Linked DNA regions of Homo sapiens: regions 1 and 2 are each linked to region 3. The links are contacts of gene promoters, found by promoter capture Hi-C in blood cells and fetal thymus (Javierre and others, 2016). All regions are on one chromosome and are shown on one strand. Each heading gives the region's core, a stretch centred on a gene start or on the middle of the fragment in contact. The rest is flanking DNA. Distances are from core to core; before and after follow the strand shown. Region 1 holds the start of TNNI1 (troponin I1, slow skeletal type). Region 2 overlaps KIF14 (kinesin family member 14). Region 3 holds the start of CACNA1S (calcium voltage-gated channel subunit alpha1 S).

Region 1 (2,914 bases), core at 206-2,705, 310 kb after region 3:
CTGACACCCCTCAGACGGGGGCCCTTGCCAGGCTCTGTGGAAGACAAGCGAGGACTGATAAGTCAGGATGAAGATAGCAGCCACTGGAAGGCTTGGAGAGCCAGGATTCCATCTCCTCTACAAGTAGCAAGCAAGGAGATAATGAGAAAATCCTCCCCCCGAGGGGGGGAGCAAAGAGTCTCTGGTGGTTGCCTCAGAGCTGGGCTTTCCCTTCCTTGAGGCTTTGCAGCGTGGAAGGGACTATCCGCTAGACTATGAGATTGAGTCTGTGTGTGTAAGTGTGTGTAAGTGACTGTGTGTGAGAGTGTGAGTGTGAGAGAGAGAGCGTGTATATGTAGGGGAAAGAACTGATCTCTTTGCACACCCAATGATCACGTCCACAAGTATCTAGTTAGGCTCATGTGCTTCCCCCTGCTCCCCGCCCCCTGACCTTGGACCCCCATTCAAGGGCATCCCTGTCTTCCTTGACTGACGGTTAACACTCCCAAGTGCATGGCGCTGGGCTGCCCCCATCTTGAGTTCTGAACAGCAAAGCCTAATCTCAGAGCTGCTGTGGGACTGTGACTCCCAAACCTGGTGGCAGGTGCTGCCTTCAGCCCCCACCTGAGTCAGGGACCGCCACACGGCCCCCTGCCCCAAGCCTTGGGTTACCCTGTAGATACTGCCCTGGCTTATGTGTTCACTGGCTCCTGTGCCCCAACCCAAAATGCCGCCACCATTGCCTTCCTCCAAGAGGACCCCCAGTATCTACTGCTGCTTCTCAGAGCCAGGAGCTCTGAGCAGGAGCAGTCAAGAGGGGTTGCCGGTCTGCCCTCCTCTGCTCTTGTGCTACACTACAGAGGGATAGGCAAAGGGAGCTAACAGCGTCGCTCAGAGACAAAGAACACAGAAGCAAGATGGTTTCCTTGGCCAGCAGGGAGCTCTGGCCCTGCCTTCTAGGCTCCCTGGGAGTCCTGCGCGTCAGGCACCCTCCTTCTCTTCCGCTGCAGGCATTGCTGACTTTGAGCACTCACCCTGGCTCTCTGATCCCAGGGCCACCCCTTCCCCTGGGTGCGCTCTCCCTCCCACACTCTGCTGGGCATCCTGTGTGAAAACATCATCCCTTAGGCTCTGCCCTGGGGCTCCTAAGGAACCTCACGGAAGATTCTGCTCCTTGCTCACAGCCTCCAAATGGCCAGGAAAAAGTTTCACCTCTCACAACAGTTTTGCAGGAGAGATGCCATTCTGTGGGACAAAATGCTGTGGGAGTATTTTAGGAATGTTCTACCAACAAACCAACTGCACAGGCAAGAAATGGTTTTCTCCAGCTCCAAGACCTCGCTTTCTCCTTAAACAAAAGCCCCAGGTTCTCTGCCTGGGATCAACCTACATCTGAAGTTCTGGGCTGCAGACGCTTACCTTGTTCAGTCCTCGTGGAGCTGGGCTGGCCTGTGCCTCGCCGTAGACTGCAGACTGTGAGGGGCAGAGCCGAGGGGAGGCTATGAAAACTGTGTCCAGCAGCAACTGGCTGGTAAAAATAGAACAGACCCACTGCCCCCTCCTGCTGCCCCTCCTCCCTCCCACCCTTCACACACACACACACACACACACACACACACACACACACACACACCTCACAGGGCAGATGCGTGCTGCAATGCACACAACAGGCACATAGGCGGAAAGCCATGTGAATTTGTGGCTCAGGAGCAGAGGCAAATTCTGTGCACATAGGTGCCACCAACTGAGTGAAACCAGCACCCACCTGGGGAGACTCGAGCTGCAGAAAGGGAAAGAATGAGCAGCCAGACCAGGTGTGGGGACTGAGCAGAGATGGGACTGGGAGGGGGAATGAGGGAGAGCAAAGGGCCACAGTGAAGGCCCAGAGGGGCAAGTAGCAGCTGGGGGAAGAGGACCATTGGGCTAACCCTGCATCTCTTATAAGGCAATATGGAAATGAGGCCCCTGAACCCATGCCCCAAAAGCCCAAGAGGGCTAAAGACTCAGCTTTCAGGGATTTTTCAGTGGCTCTGGTGCACGTGGGATACGAGGGTGCCTGGCTGTGGGGAGTGATGTGAGCAGTGTTGCAGGCTGACCCCAGTGAGTGTTTCCAGGGCTGAGCAGAATGGCAGTGGCAGCAGGGCACACCTTTATGCTCAGGGAGGTCTGAGGGTCTGCAGACACTCTGCATCCCCCTCCAGATGGGTTTCCTGGAATCTAGATTTCCCAGGTTCCAAAGGACACCCGAGTCTCATGCCTGGAACTCAGTGAGACTAATTCACCTCTCCTCTGCCCTAATCTTCATCTCCAGCCAGAAGCCAACAGATCCCAGGGGACTGGAGCCACAGGGGCTGCACCTGTTTACCGGGTATTTTTAGGATGGTTGATGAACACATAATACCCACCCTATAGTCAGAGAAAGACAATGCCTGCTATGTTAATCCTGTGGCTATTATAGTCTGTCATCTCATGGGTTGGGGCAGGACACTGACCCTCTCAGAGGCCAGAGAGAGGCCTCGCAAGCAGGAGGTTAGGGAGCCCCAGCCATGCTCCCCATTTGGAGAAGGAGAGAGTAATGGGCAGGGGTGTCCTAAGGAGACACACCCCAGTGCCCACAGAGGTAAAGGCCCTGCCCTCTCTACAACGACATTCTGCTGCCTAATAGAGGTTGCTCTAATTCTGTTCTGGTCGGGTCAACTTTGAGAAGCCTCTATGTGAGACGGCTGCCAGGGAGAAATGACAGGGTCTGGGGAGGCATAGGGGTTGGGGACATAGGATTCCAAGTGGAGAGGCTGTGATGGATAATGAAGGCAGGCTCCAGCCAAAAGGAGCAGCTAGAGGGGAGAAGGAATTTAGGGGCTTTGCAGATGAGCCTACTGGAGTTTATTGCCTTGGCTTATTATAATTTATACAATAACTTTCCATTTATTTATTT
Region 2 (2,700 bases), core at 91-2,590, 510 kb before region 3:
TCATCACCAGGGTGAAAACTGAATGAGATCGGGAACTTTTATCATTCATACCAGTAGCAGCAGTAGCTCTTTGTTTATTTCCCAATTCTAGCCAACTCTTATAAGAAAAAAGGAAGGAAGATCAGATCAGCAGACTGTAACTCAATGATATAAAAATTAAGAGAGACAACATATACACATTTGTAATTCAGATCAGCAGACTGTAACTCAATGATATAAAAATTAAGAGAGATAACATATACACATTTGTAATTAATTTATAAAATGAAATGAGTAAATATTTATCTTTTAATAATTTGTATTCCCATTGCCTTTTTTTCTGTCATAGAAATCTGAGGCAGGAAATAATAACTTTAAAAGGCTGTTTCCATAACTCTAAGCTTACATGAAGGTCAACATTTTTAATAAAGAAGAGCAATTATTTTGATTAAAACTTAACAAAATCGGTTTGTGATAAATTAAGGAAACTAACCTTTTATTTGTAAAACAGCAATTAAGAAAAAATATTCTTATAAATATTTAGGATTATGCTCTTTCTATCTAGTGAAAAGAAAACAAAATCAATCTTACCTGGATATCAGCGTAAGAACTGACAATGTTCCTATTTTTAAGAAGTGAAAAGACAAAATCAATTTTACTGATGATTATACTCTTGTTCTCATAAAACAATAACATTTCAATTACATATTTACGCTGAAGATCACAATGGACTAATTCATGAATATTATTTTATTGATTCTCCCAGAATCTTTTATTTTCCCCATTCTTGAAGGACAGGAAATAAAATAATGCTTTAATTTTAACAAAAAGTATGATTTTTCTTAATACAATGAAGCACCTTAGCATCTTAATATTCAAGTCTAAGTCACAATACCAAAAGATATACTTTAACACATATGTATATGCATAGGTATATTTATATGTGGGTGTATATGGGTCCCAATACAATCCCAGATGTATTAAATGCAGCTGAGTTAATACTTAATAACTTTTCCTTTCCTTTAAGAAAGCATTTGCAGTGTTGGAAAAAAAAGTAAATGACTCCTAGCATGCATCAAACTCTTAACTCTTCTTAGTACCCTCTTCCCTGTCTAGCTTAGAGTCATAGGTATAAAAAGCAGGTTGAGAGGGAAGATTAAATTAATAGTGAAAGGAAGGGGTAAAAGAAAGAAAAAGCAAATATTTACTTCATAGTATAATGAATACTCCATGGCAGACACTTTACAGGTACTATGAAAGACACATGCAAGTATTAAAACAAGTAACTAACACTCTATGGAAAGAGAGGGAAAACCTAATTGGACAATATCAAGGGTAGAAGGCTAAATAAATAGTTACCCAGGGTTTCAAAGTTAGGAAGGCCAATGAGAATACAATAAAGATTATGGGAGAGTAACATTCACTCTATTCATTTGTTTTATCCTCTTTGCCCTTGCTGAGCCAAATACTTACATTGACAGTGCTTCAACATATGGTCCATAAACAGGATGTTCCCTCACTCTCAGCTAGAAGAAGCAAATACATGCATCATTAGGAGTATGACAAATATTTCATGTAACTTGAAATGATCACTTTTTCTACATCTTGAGTTTAAGGTAAGAGATTTGTCTTTATTTTATCCAGGAAAAAAAAAAACCACAAAAACTCTCACAAAAACAAATCTGTAAGGCATTAGGAAACAGCTTCAATATAAAAAACTGTTCATAGTAGCACAATATGCAACAATATATTGTAGCATCAAGTCTTACTAGTTTTTTTATTCTTAAAAAACTGCTATTAGAATTGTCTAATAGACAATAATTAGAACAATATATTTTAGCATCAGATGTCTTACTAGTTTTTTGTTTGTTTGTTTGTCTGTTTTGAGACAGAGTCCTGCTCTGTGGCCCAGGCTGGAGTACAGTGGTGCAATCTTGGCTCAGTGCAACCTCTGCCTCCTGGGTTCAAGCGATTCTCCTACCTCGGCCTTCTGAGTAGCTGAGATTACAAGACAGTGCCACCACACCAGCTAACTTTTGTATTTTCAGTAGAGAAGGAGTTTCACCATGTTGGCTAGGCTGGTCGGGAACTCCTGACCTCAAGTGATCCGCCCACCTCAGCCTCCCAAAGTACTGGGATTGCAGGCGTCAGCCACCGTACCCAGCTTGTCTTCCTAGTTTTTCAGTAAGACATTTGAATGTTAAATCTTGCAGTAGCTATGATTTATATACTTTTAAATGCTCTCTAAAACATATTCGTTAAATTTCAGACATTAAAATTTTTCTTTATTGTTACATTATACATTTTCAACTTTGTGACCAGAAGCTTTAAACATATAGAAATCATAGAAGCAAATGTCAAGTTTTGTTTAAGTTTCTTGATGTTGCCAATAGTAAACTGCACAAACATGGGCAAGTGAAGAAGACAGCTGACTTCCTTTTTTTTCTTGAAATGGAGTCTTGCTCTGTCGCCAGGCTGGAGTGCGGTGGTGAAATCTCGGCTCACTGAAACCTCTGCCCCCGGGTTCAAGCGATTCTCCTGCATCAGCCTCCTGAGTAGCTGGGACTACAGGCACGCGCCACCATGCCAAGCTAATTTTTGTATTTTTAGTAGAGACAGGGTTTCACCATGTTGGCCAGGATGGTCTCCATCTCTTGACCTAGTGATCCACCTGCCTTGACCTCCCAAAGTGCTGTGATTACAGGTGTGAGCCAACACGCC
Region 3 (2,703 bases), core at 121-2,620:
AGGGGCAGGGCGCAGAGGAGCAGAGGATGGAGGAGAGGGAGAACCCACAGAGTAAACCTGATTGCAGAAGAGAGGCAAGGAGGGAGGGCCTAGGAGGGTTTGATGTGGGCGATATACCGCCTGGCCGAGAGCGGGTCAGGGGAACAGGGCTGACCCTGACCCCAAACTATCTCTACTTGCCCCACGTTTCTCTTGTCCTTCCAGTTATCCCTCATTCTCCTTCCTTCTAGGGAACAGCTGGTAGGAGCCCAGCCTTCCAGAACTCTTCAGAAATATTTCAAATATGCCCCACCCTCGCTCTCAGAACCCACTTGACACAGCCCTCCCCTTCTCTCTGTCACTCCTTCCTCCCTTCCCCAAATAACCCAGATATTTTCATCATTCTCCCCACCAGAGCAAATGCAAACATAGCATGAGTTTCAAAGTCCCTGTCCCCAGGGTGGCACGTCTGAGCTAGAACAACCAGGCTTGTTTGGCCTGTGTCTTGGAGCCACTGAGACCAGGTGTCTTTCAGATCCATTTCTCCCCTTGGCTCTGTCCTCAGCTGGGACCTGCCCCCAGAGGAAGCCTTCCTTCAGCTCACCTCTGTCCACTGTCACCCCCCACCCAACCCAAACAAGGGAGAGTTTTCTCAAAGAGGCCATCGCATCTTTTTTTGGTCCCTATCCTATTCTAAAATGAGGCTGGTGCTTCAAAAACCTAGTGGCACCCCATGATAATGTGGATTTGGGCACACATGGGAACAGTCCCCATGAAACAGGCCCCACCCATAGGTGGTCAGTAGGCATCTCTGGTTGTCATCCAGGACTTGGGTGGCCCACTCAGGCCCAGGAAGCCCCACCAAGTCCTCCTTCTCTTCCTCTTCCTCCTCCTCCTCTTCCTCCTCCTCCCCCACCCTCCTCCTCTTCCTCCTCCTCCCCCACCCTCCTCGTCTTCCTCCTCTTCCTCCTCCTCCTCTCCTGCTTAGCCGAGGGCTCCTTCCCCCAGCTCCTCACTCAATTCTGTGAGTTCACCCCATGTCTAAGTGCCAGGCCTCCCTGGCCCTCCTGTAGGAAGTTTGTGCTCTGTGATCACCCCGAATCCCTCCCTCATGACGCACACCCCCCCCCACGGCCCGGGCCCTGAAGGATACTTCCATTCTACAATGCTGATGCAGGCCTTCCTCAGGGGGTTCTCCAGGGTCAGGCAGAACAAGGCCCGGGGTGGCCTTGGCAGAATCTCAGGAACTGGCTTCTTGGGCTGTTTCTTCCTCAGGCCTTCATCCTGGGGTGAGGATGGCTCCATGGCTTCCCTGGGAATCTGGCTTTCTCCTGCTCCCCCACCCCAGTGCTTTCCCTTCCCTGTGTCCCCAATGCCCCCGCCTTGGGGACTAGGCTGGCTGAGGCTGTCGGCTGAGCCTGCCCTGCTGAGCCAGCCAGGGGGCGGGGGCAGGAGTGGGGGCAGGAGGATTACTCTCCTCGCTCCCAGCAAGTAAAATTAGCCTCCACTCGGCTCCCCGCTGCCGGGCCTGAGCTTCTGAGGCCAGGCAGCTGTCATTCCACCCAGCCCAGCCAGTGACTTCCCAATCTGTCCCCTGAGGAGGGTGGGGTGGGTCGGGGGAAGAACTTACACACAGGCCTGGGATGGGGCAGGGGCAGTGGGAGAGGGAGACAGGATGGAAGGTTTCAAGCCTGGGGCAACAGAGGTCAGGAATAGGTAGCCTTGGATATGGAACCTCAAACTGCAGAGTGGCCCCCTCATGCCAAAATTAGGCTTACCCCTCCTCAGCCCCATGACATTGTCTGGAGAAGGCACTGGGCAGCCTAAGTCAGGACAGCTCCACAGCAGCCCCTACCCATCTCAGTATCTGCACCATCAGCCAAAACTCCCCAAGCATACCCTCAACCCACCCCCACAAGCAATCCCATGTCAGAGAAACAGTAAACCCCTCTCCAGTGGGCTAGAAGGCTCCCAGAACAACCCTGAGTGTGCACACCTCTGGCATAGCACCTGCCTCACTGTGGAGCATCTGCTGTGTATCTTTCTTCCCCATCTCCTCCCATCCCTACAGGTGTAAAGGTTGTGTGCATTATCTCTGGGACTCTGGCCCCTTCTCTGCACAGTCCCCCTATGTACTATGCTCCCTGTAAATGTTCACTGAGGCCAGGCATGGTGGCTCACGCCTGTAATCCCAACACTTTGGGAGGCTGAGGTGGGAGAATGGCTTGAGCTCAGGACTTCAAGACCAGTCGGGGCAACGTAGTGAAACTCTGTCTCTACAAAAAATACAAAAATTAGCAGGGTATGGTGGTGTGTGTTTGTAGTCCCAGCTACTAGGGGGGCCAAGGTGGGAGGATCAGTTGAGCCTGGGAGGTTGAGGCTGCAATGAGCCAAGATCTGGCCACTGCACTCCAGCCTGGATGACAGAGTGAGACAGAGTGAGACCTTGTCTCAAAAAGAAAAGTTCATTGAGGATAGCCACGGTAATCCCAGCACTTTGGGAAACCAAGGTAGGTAGATAACTTGAGGTGAGGAATTCGAGACCAGCATGGCCAACATGGTGAAACCCGCATTCTACTAAAAATACCAAAGATTAGCGGGCGTGGTGGTGTGCACCTATAATCCCAGCTACTCTGGAGGCTGAGGCAGGAGAATTGCTCAAACCCAGGAGAAGGAGGTTGCAGTGAGCAGGGATTGAATCACTGCACTCCAGTCTGGGCAACA

The links. Contacts are between HindIII fragments. The CHiCAGO score rates a contact against its expected background, and 5 or more counts as called.
Region 1: the fragment with the promoter of TNNI1 here is called in contact with the fragment with the promoter of CACNA1S in region 3 in 1 of 17 cell types (M1 macrophages); the score reaches 5.4 in M1 macrophages.
Region 2: a fragment that was not itself captured here is called in contact with the fragment with the promoter of CACNA1S in region 3 in 1 of 17 cell types (total CD4 T cells); the score reaches 5.2 in total CD4 T cells.

The regions. Positions count from the first base shown.
Region 1 is chr1:201,420,275-201,423,188 of GRCh38, forward strand. It overlaps TNNI1 (troponin I1, slow skeletal type), which reads right to left and starts at 1,456. Exons shown (of 9, transcript NM_003281.4): 1 at 1,399-1,456. The HindIII fragment of the contact is 15,457 bases long and covers 1-2,914 here.
Region 2 is chr1:200,605,294-200,607,993 of GRCh38, forward strand. It overlaps KIF14 (kinesin family member 14), which reads right to left. Exons shown (of 30, transcript NM_014875.3): 6 at 1,453-1,505; 7 at 571-601; 8 at 1-97. Among named protein-coding and RNA genes, the nearest start is that of KIF14, 14 kb to the right of the region's middle. The HindIII fragment of the contact is 1,924 bases long and covers 379-2,302 here.
Region 3 is chr1:201,111,056-201,113,758 of GRCh38, forward strand. CACNA1S (calcium voltage-gated channel subunit alpha1 S) reads right to left here and starts at 1,371. Exons shown (of 44, transcript NM_000069.3): 1 at 1,133-1,371. The coding sequence starts at 1,284. The HindIII fragment of the contact is 9,593 bases long and covers 1-2,703 here.